3 separate regions of the Homo sapiens genome follow, and regions 2 and 3 are each linked to region 1. Evidence: promoter capture Hi-C in human tissues and cell types (Jung and others, 2019). All regions are on one chromosome and are shown on one strand. Each heading gives the region's core, a stretch centred on a gene start or on the middle of the fragment in contact. The rest is flanking DNA. Distances are from core to core; before and after follow the strand shown.

Region 1 (2,770 bases), core at 5-2,504:
GCACCTCATCCCCAAAAACAACCTGAGGAGGCCGTTGGAAAGCTCCGAGTTGACAAGTCTCATCCACGCACATGCTCGGTGCTTCCAATCGGTGATCAAGACCACTGCTCTTCATCCAGAGCAGGCAGCAGGGATTCCCAGGTATCCAAAGAAACCAAAACAGGCGGTGTAATTTAGGACTGACTAAGTAATGGCTCGGCCACTTTTAAGTGTGGAAGCAAAACTGACCCCACAGATTTAGAAAACTGTAACACTGCTTATTGGGAGAAACTAGTGTCACCCTGGCTAGTTCTGCTCCCCAAATTCAAAGGTAAATAAACGGTTGAGCATGTCCGATCAGCCTGGAGGGAAACCTCCACCCCCGACTTTGTAGGACTGACATCTGAAGACGTCAGAGACTGCGGTCACAACCGTCGGTACCTCCTTAGGGCGCTTAACAGAGGTCAAAGATGGCCCTCGCACCCTCCTGGCGGGAGAAAGCCCAGGCTCAGGGTGGTCTTCTACACCACCGCCTCTCCCGGGTCCACTTGGAAGCGAGTCCCAGCGAACTACTCGACCTAGGAAACCACTGGGCCGCCACTTCCAGCCTCTTCGGAAGTCGAGGCAACGCTCCTGAACGTTGCCACGGGAACAGCTGGAGGCGGGCGGATATGCCCTAGCGTTATCTAGGGGCTGGCCCGGGGAATGGCGTGGGGGCGGCGGGGCCAAGCAAGCGCCACCTCTGATTGGGCAAAACCCCCTCCCCTCACCTGCCAATAGAAACCGGCCCACTGTACAGACGCGCAAGTTTATAACCCGGGAAGAGCTGCTCTCAGAGCGGAGGGAGACCATATAACCCTGGGACTCTGCCGTACCTCCTAGAGGAACAGAGCGCCTCTCAGGCGTCAGAGGCTGCTGCAAATGCGGGTCAGCGGGTCACGGTCGCGCCTGTCTTGCTGATGCTCATGGGAAATGTAGTTCAAAGGGCATGGGCGGTGCCTTCGGTGCAGGCGAGAGATTGGTCAGCGCGGCGTCGCCGGGGCAACACCCGGCTGAGGCGCCCCGCGTTGTGCGGCGCCACATCCGGGAAGCGGCCTCCAAGCAACCGCTCCGGGTTGAGGTGAGCGCAGGCTGCCAGAGTGGGCGCAGCCTTTCCACCCCGTGGGAGGGCTTGGGGTCGCCCTCTGGGGCCTGAACGGCTCCTGCTGTCGGCGCCCTGGAGGGCCCGCCCACTTCCCGACAGGCCGCGCGCGTCACCTCAGCCTTCGCTCAGGCCTTTCCTACCCTCAACGCCGTTCCGGGGGGCCGGGCCTGGCAAGTCCTCTTGGAACGCCTCCCTCTTGCCTTCCCCTTTTGGGGACAGATCCCGAAGTTCGAGCATCCCTCGGATAGGCCGGGTGTCAGGCCTGGTCTCTCAGGCCCGTCCAGGTGGGCGTCTTTCACTGCAGACCTTCAGGGCCGGGATGCTGTGGCCATCCCTCGACTCCGCGCAACGTGGAGCTTTGGCCCCGTTTTTCTTGGCCTTTGCTTTTCGTTTTCACATGCACGGGCCCCGGCAGTGTGAGTCGCCCACGGCTCGCTGTGGTCAGCGAGCACGATGTCCACGTGCCCCCTCCCCAGAGCCATTCCTAAAGGAGGTCCCACCCAGTCAACCTCCCCGAGATTGTGGAGGGCGACTCGTCCCCGTACATTACAGCCTGGCCCCACCTTCTACCCGCCCACCCTGGTCCACTCTCCTCGCACCTCGGCTAGACACTGTGGCTCCTCAGCCTGGCGCTGGAACTCTGTGATGACTGTCTTTCTCCACCTCTTTAGCGTCATCTCCCAGCAGTCCCCTGCTGGACCCAACTGTTTGCAATTTCCAGGAAGCTCCCTGGACACCTTGCGTCCAAGCATTTGTCCCTGAGGCTTCCTCCTGCTCTCATTTGCCATCATTGTTTGGGTCCTGTGACCCTCCTCCTTCCATGAAGCTTTCTTGGCCTTATCTCTTCTGGCCTCAGAGTACACTTGGTCCTGGTCTCAGCCCCCTGGGCTGAGCCTGGTGTCTGCCTTCCCCTGGCCAGATTCTCTTGGCTGACATTCCGACCCTTCCTTTTCTGTAGGCCCATCTTGACGATTCCAAGACCACCCCCTTGAGCAAGAATGCCATCCCCTCTGGGTCCCCCATGCCTGCCCGTCATGGACCCAGAGACCACCCTTGAGGAGCCTGAGACTGCCCGCCTCCGCTTCCGAGGGTTCTGCTACCAGGAGGTGGCAGGTCCCCGAGAAGCCCTGGCCCGGCTGCGTGAGCTGTGTTGCCAGTGGCTGCAGCCTGAGGCACACTCCAAGGAGCAGATGCTGGAGATGCTGGTGCTGGAGCAGTTCCTGGGCACACTGCCTCCCGAGATCCAGGCCTGGGTGCGCGGTCAGCGGCCAGGCAGTCCTGAGGAGGCCGCTGCCCTAGTCGAAGGACTGCAGCATGACCCTGGGCAACTGTTGGGCTGGGTGAGTGTGGCTGGCATCAGCTTCTTGGAGGGATAGACCCTGGCTAGAGCCATTGTGACCTACCTCTTCTCCTCAGATCACAGCCCATGTCCTGAAGCAGGAGGTGCTCCCTGCAGCCCAGAAGACAGAGGAACCACTTGGGAGCCCCCACCCCTCAGGGACAGTGGAGTCCCCTGGGGAAGGTCCCCAGGACACCAGAATAGAGGGGTCTGTCCAGCTCAGCTGCAGTGTGAAGGAGGAGCCCAATGTCGATGGACAGGAAGTGGGTGAGGTTGGGGTCCCACCAGAGATGAGGGACTCCTGGAGG
Region 2 (2,770 bases), core at 86-2,585, 730 kb before region 1:
ACCTGAGGTTGAGAGTTCGAGACCAGCCTGACCAACATGGAGAAACCCCGTCTCTACTAAAAATACAAAATTAGCCAGGTATGGTGGCTCATGCCTGTAATCCCATCCATAACATTAATTTATTAGGCAAAACACTCCTTGCCATGGAAACAGAAATAAAGAATAGTCACAAAAAAAAAAAAAGAAAAGAAATAAATAAAGTCTGTTTTATCTAATACAAAAAAAAAAAAATAGCCACTTCCCAGCAATAACATGAACTCCTGGATTTAAGACACAACCAATATCAACAGGTGGAGAGCATCTTCTGCATACGTGCCCCACCTTTGAAAACTGCAGCCATTTATCACTACCAAAATAGCATTTCTTTCATTGGTCTTCCTGTAAGATTGATAAATCTTAGATAAATTAATCCAGAATTAATTGAATATAAGTTGGAATCTCAAGCGAGGGATACTAAGTGGATAAAAGTGTTGCTCAATGTACTGGACACTATGATTGATTTTATAGGCAGGAGAGTTGTCTTCTGTGGGAATCACAGACAGAGATTCAGCATGTATTCCTGCTTTAGGGAACACAACATTTCTCCTCTATCTTCCTTGTCTTGTCCTATCTGGATTAGTTCTCTCTTGTCCCTGACAGACTGAGAAACTGACTCTAATGCCTCAGAGTGCATTCATGTGAATTTATAACACAATAATGTTTATCAGCCTCTGCTGCCAGTACCGGGATTTTGCGACTGAAAGACTGTTCAAAACGTTATGATAATTTGGATTTTTAGTCTTTGGGGGCATCCTAAATAATAAGTTTAGCATCGGAGAGCTCGAGTTCCCCAAAATCTAAAATAATATTTTTTCAAATACTTGAGTGATCAGTTACAGACACTAATCTCCAAAAATCTCAATACGGGTTCTAAGGCTAGGTGAGACTATCCTCTACCCTAGAAGGACATGCACTTTAAGGACAGGCCGCTGAGATGGAGCTGGGCCTTTCCTGCAAGTAAGTGAACGTGATGGTAGGGTATACCTGACAGCATAGTTTGACAGGGGATATAGACTTTCAAGGAGAAAATAGACATGAAATAGATACATGCAGAAGTATAGTCAAATTGAGGGAAGATGACACTTAGGCCAGAGTAGTGTTTATTCACCACTCTGTGCAATCAAGCGCCTCTGAGAAGGCCTTCTTTACCGCCTTGGAACTGTCTTGGAACCTGAGGAAACTACATAACCCAGAAATCTCTGCGTCGAATGACAGCGCGTCAGAGCCAATGAGGGCTCAAAATAAAGGCGTTTCCGCGGAAACAGTATAAAGGTGGGACTTCCGGCGTCCTCTACTAGTGGCCATTTTGATTGGTGTTGGGTGTATTTTCCAGTGAGAGACCGCGGAGTGTTGGGTCGTGTAGAAGTGACTGAACCCAGAAGGTGGAGACGAGACGTTGTCCCGACTGCACAGAGGCTGCTCTGCAGCTCCTTAAAGGCGCTAGGCGTGACCCGCACCAAGGCCGGGATCGGGACCACCGTGCCCGGGTACCTGCACTGCTCGCCCCCTCCTTTCGACCCCGCTTTCCCCACCCAGTCGGATGGCGGCGGCCGCGCTGAGGCCCCCGGCTCAGGTAATTGTGGCGTCTTCCGTGCCCTCAGGTCACCTCATCTTTACCTAAGTCCAAAAGCAGAGAGGAAGCGGCGCCTGCTCAAGGTTTTACACCCTGAACCCGGCGTCGGGACACTGAGGCGCTCTCTATGGGCCCCCGTTTTTGACACCCGCGGGATGCGCTCAGGAGAGCTACAGGCACAGGGAGCGGTGCAGGCAAAGGCCTGGAGATGAACTGAGCCGAGAGGATCGTAACCTAGGGTCCACAGGCACCTGTCGGGAGCAAAGTGTGAGGCAGAGCTCCTCCTGGAAGAGCAGGCTGAGGACCGTGTATTCACCCTGAGAACGCTGGAAGCCATGGACAGCTTCCAACAAAGGAAGGAAAAGATCAATGTCCAGGCTTTAAAGGTTTCCCAAAGTCCAGTCGAAAAAGAACACAGGGGATGACTTTTGGGCCCTGGGAGGTTGAATTCTTGTTCAACCTCTACAGATCAGATAGGTGCTAAGAGATGACATTTTGTACTGAGGCGCTCAGTTCAGACAACCAACTCGCGTTTACCTAGTTACAGGGCCAAGAAAGAGTTCAGGGAGGCCTGAGCTTATCAAATCTCATCAGGGATACATTCTTGTAGCTTGTGCCTCTCCTCTCAGGAACTCCTGGCTGCAGAAGCACTTGCAGAACCTCCGCAGGGAAGCGGAGGGTGTTATTCCCTCACTGGCCCTAACTCCTATCCACATGCTCTTTAGATTGGGATGTCCTGGGATTCTTAGGTACCTTTTTTTTTTTTTTTTTAAGTTTTTTGATATGGGAACCCTGGAGGAACCTTAAACCCAGGATCCAAAGTCTGTGACACAGGATATATGGAGGTATTCCCATTTCTGTCAACCAGTATAAACATACTTGGAAGGTTAACCCAGGAGTTAGTACCAGGATGTGAAATGCTTAGAGGTGAAACTGACCAGAGGGAGGAGGTGATGTTGCCACAGTTTCATCTGGCTGTAGTCTCCTCTGGCTGTACAGTGGAGAACAGACTGTGGGGTTGAGAGAGGAGGAAATAAGATGAGAGTTGAGGCTTTTGCCGTAATCCAAGTGAGGGTTAACAGACTAAGATTCATGGCTAAGGAGATGTGGCTGGATTCAAAGTTGATATTTTGTTACAGCATCTAGGTTTCCTAATAC
Region 3 (2,770 bases), core at 129-2,628, 660 kb before region 1:
GAGAAACTAGGCCCACTGGTCATGGGGTACAGCCACCAACAACAATAGTTAGTTGAACAAATAGGTATCTGTGCGGTGGCTGTGATATAAGAGTCCACCCCCTCCTGACAGGCACTTCCCCTAGTATGGCCGAGGTCATGGAAAGCCCAATGTGGCACCTTCAGCACAGCAGAGATACCCTCTCTGAACGCACCTCATTCTTTTTTTTTTTTTTTTTTTTTTTTTTTTGATACGGAGTCTCGCTCTGTCACCCAGGGTGGAGTGCAATGGCGCGATCTCGGCTCACGCAACCTCCGCCTCCCGGGTTCAAGCGAGTCTGCTGCCTCAGTTTCCCAAGTAGCTGGGATTACAGGCATGCGCCACCACGCCTGGCTAATTTTGTATTTTTAGTAGAGACAGGGTTTCTCCATGGTTGGTCAGGCTGGTCTCTACCTCCGGACCAACCCGCCTAGGCCTCCCAAAGTGCTGGGATTACAGGAGTGAGCCACTGCACCCGGCCCCACCCTCCACTTTCTTGTATGCGTTCCTTAAATGCTTCTACAGCCATAAAGGCCTGAGGGAAGAGGCTGACTTTACAGGACTGTGTCCCTGATAGGATCTGGTAAGCTCAGGCCTCCCTGAACGCTTTTGTGTCCACGGAGCCAGGTGACCTTGGACTATTGTCTAACCTGCGTGTCTCAGCACAAAGTGTCATCTCTACCACCTATATGATCTACAAGGATTCAATCTCAAAGGGCCCCAACGTCATCCCCTCTCTACTCTGTTATTTATTTGGCCTTTAGGAAACTTTAAAAGCCTGGACTTTGATCCAGTCCCTTCTTTCTTGGAAATTCTCCTATTTCTAGTGTCCTCGCAATGATTTCACAGCCCCCAGCCTCCTTGCTTTTCCAGGAGGAGTTCCGCCTCACAGGTTGTTCCCTACAGGCGCCTGTGGACCCCAGGTTCCATCCTCCCGGATCCGTCCATCTCCAGGCCATTGCCCGCGCCCCTCCCTGTACCTGTCGCTCTCCCCACCGCATCCCACGGGTGTCTGAAACAGGGATCCCTCCCGAGAGCGCCTCAGTGTCCCGACGCCGGGTCCGGGTTGCAGAGCCGTAAACAGGTGCCGCTCCCTCGCTGCTTTAGGACTTGTGTGACTAGGAGGTGACCGGAGAGCACGGAAGGCGCCACAATTACCTGAACGGGGAACCTTAGCGCGGCCGCCGCCATGGGACCACGTGGGGTAAGCTGGGTTGAGAGCAGCGGGCGCCGTTAAAGAGCTGCAGAGTCACGTCTGTGCAAAGAGAAGAACGACTCTCGACCTCCTGGATCCAGTCACCACCACGGTCCCAACACAGCGCTCCAAGGACTCCCTAACGCCAATGGAAATGGTCGCTACTAAAGGGCGCCGGGAGTCCCGCCTCTACCTTACTTGCGCACACGGAAACGCCTTCAATGTGAACTCTCACTGGCTCTGCCGTGCTGTCATTTGACGCAGAGCTTTCTGGGTAATGTAGTTTCCCAGGTTCCAAGGCCGTAAAGAGAGAGATTCCCAGGGGCGCTTCGGAAGGAAAAGCCCAGCTCCACCTCCGGGGCCCTCAGGGAAGCCTCCTGACCCGCACGGTGGCGCGCGCCTGTAATCCCAAATTTTGAGAGGCTGAGGTGTCAGGACTGCTTGAGCCCAGGTGGTCCAGGCTGCACTGAGCTATGACTGCACCACTGCACTCCAGCCTGGGCGACAGAACCTGTCTCAAAAGAAAAAGAAATGTTAATTAAGCGTTTGTGCTGTTAAGGGAGGAGACCACCTCTCATATTGTTTTATGCCCAATTTCTGCCTCCAAAGAAACAAGTAAAAACTAAAAGGCAGAAATGAAATCCACAGGCAGACAGCCAGGTGCCAACCCTGGGCCTGGTTAAAGATCGACCCCTGACCAAACCGGTTATGTTATCTATGGATTCCAGACATTGTATGGAAAAGCATTGTGAAAATCCCTGTCCTGTTCTGTTCCGTTCTGATTACCACTGCATGCAGCCCCCAGTCGTGTACCCCCTGCTTGCTCAATCGATCACAAACCTCTCATGTGGACCCCCTTAGAGTTGTAAGCCCTTAAAAGGGACAGGAATTCCTCACTTGGGGAGCTTGGTAGTTGGAGATGTGAGTCTTGCCAAAGCTCCAGGCTGAATACAGCCCTGCGGCTTGTCCTGCTACATTTCTTGGTTCCCTGACTGGGAAGCCAGGTGATTAACAGATAGTCGAGGCAGCCCCTTAGGCAGCTTAGGCCTGCCCTGTGGAGCATCCCTACAGGGGACTCTGGCCAGCTTGAGGGACGCAGAACCTGAGAGCACTCCCGGGTAGGCAATTGCCCCAGTGGAACACCTCGCCAGAGTGGCGTGTGGCAGGCCCCCACAGAGGATCAATGCAGCGGCTGAACACTGGGAAGGAACAGGCACTTGGAGTCCGGACATCTGAAACTTGGTAAGACTAGTCTTTGGAACTTGCCCACTCCATTTGAGTGGAAGGGTGGCCTGATCACCCACGGCATGCCTGTACCGGCACTTTGGTTTTTGTTTTTGACTTGATTTGGATTGCTTGATACTTTCGTTTTGGTTTTGACCTGGCTTGGATTTCTGGATACTCTGATTTGGATTTTGATTCTGGTTTGGTGTAAACGGTAAAAGTGTATGTGTGCCCTTTTTACCTGTTCTTTGTTTTGTGGTGTGCGTGTGGTGTGAGCGTGGTGTTTTGTCTCAAAGAAGCATGGGTCAGGCACAAAGTAAGCCCACTTCACTA

What was found. Contacts are between HindIII fragments. The study calls those that stand out against the background at their distance.
Region 2: a contact is called between the fragment with the promoter of ZNF776 here and the fragment with the promoter of ZNF446 in region 1, in 1 of the 25 tissues and cell types used here (spleen).
Region 3: the fragment with the promoter of ZNF552 here is called in contact with the fragment with the promoter of ZNF446 in region 1 in 1 of the 25 tissues and cell types used here (spleen).

What each region holds. Positions count from the first base shown.
Region 1 is chr19:58,475,098-58,477,867 of GRCh38, forward strand. ZNF446 (zinc finger protein 446) reads left to right here and starts at 1,255. Exons shown (of 7, transcript NM_017908.4): 1 at 1,255-1,407; 2 at 2,082-2,463; 3 at 2,540-2,729. The coding sequence starts at 2,122. ZNF324 (zinc finger protein 324) reads left to right here. Exons shown (of 4, transcript NM_014347.3): 4 at 1-339. RefSeq lists enhancers at 344-433, 494-553, 794-1,043, 865-1,159, 1,314-1,513. The HindIII fragment of the contact is 17,703 bases long and covers 1-2,770 here.
Region 2 is chr19:57,745,480-57,748,249 of GRCh38, forward strand. ZNF776 (zinc finger protein 776) reads left to right here and starts at 1,336. Exons shown (of 3, transcript NM_173632.4): 1 at 1,336-1,612. The coding sequence starts at 1,580. RefSeq lists an enhancer at 1,348-1,397. The HindIII fragment of the contact is 15,716 bases long and covers 1-2,770 here.
Region 3 is chr19:57,813,535-57,816,304 of GRCh38, forward strand. It overlaps ZNF552 (zinc finger protein 552), which reads right to left and starts at 1,379. Exons shown (of 3, transcript NM_024762.3): 1 at 1,177-1,379. The coding sequence starts at 1,209. RefSeq lists an enhancer at 1,654-1,703. The HindIII fragment of the contact is 37,727 bases long and covers 1-2,770 here.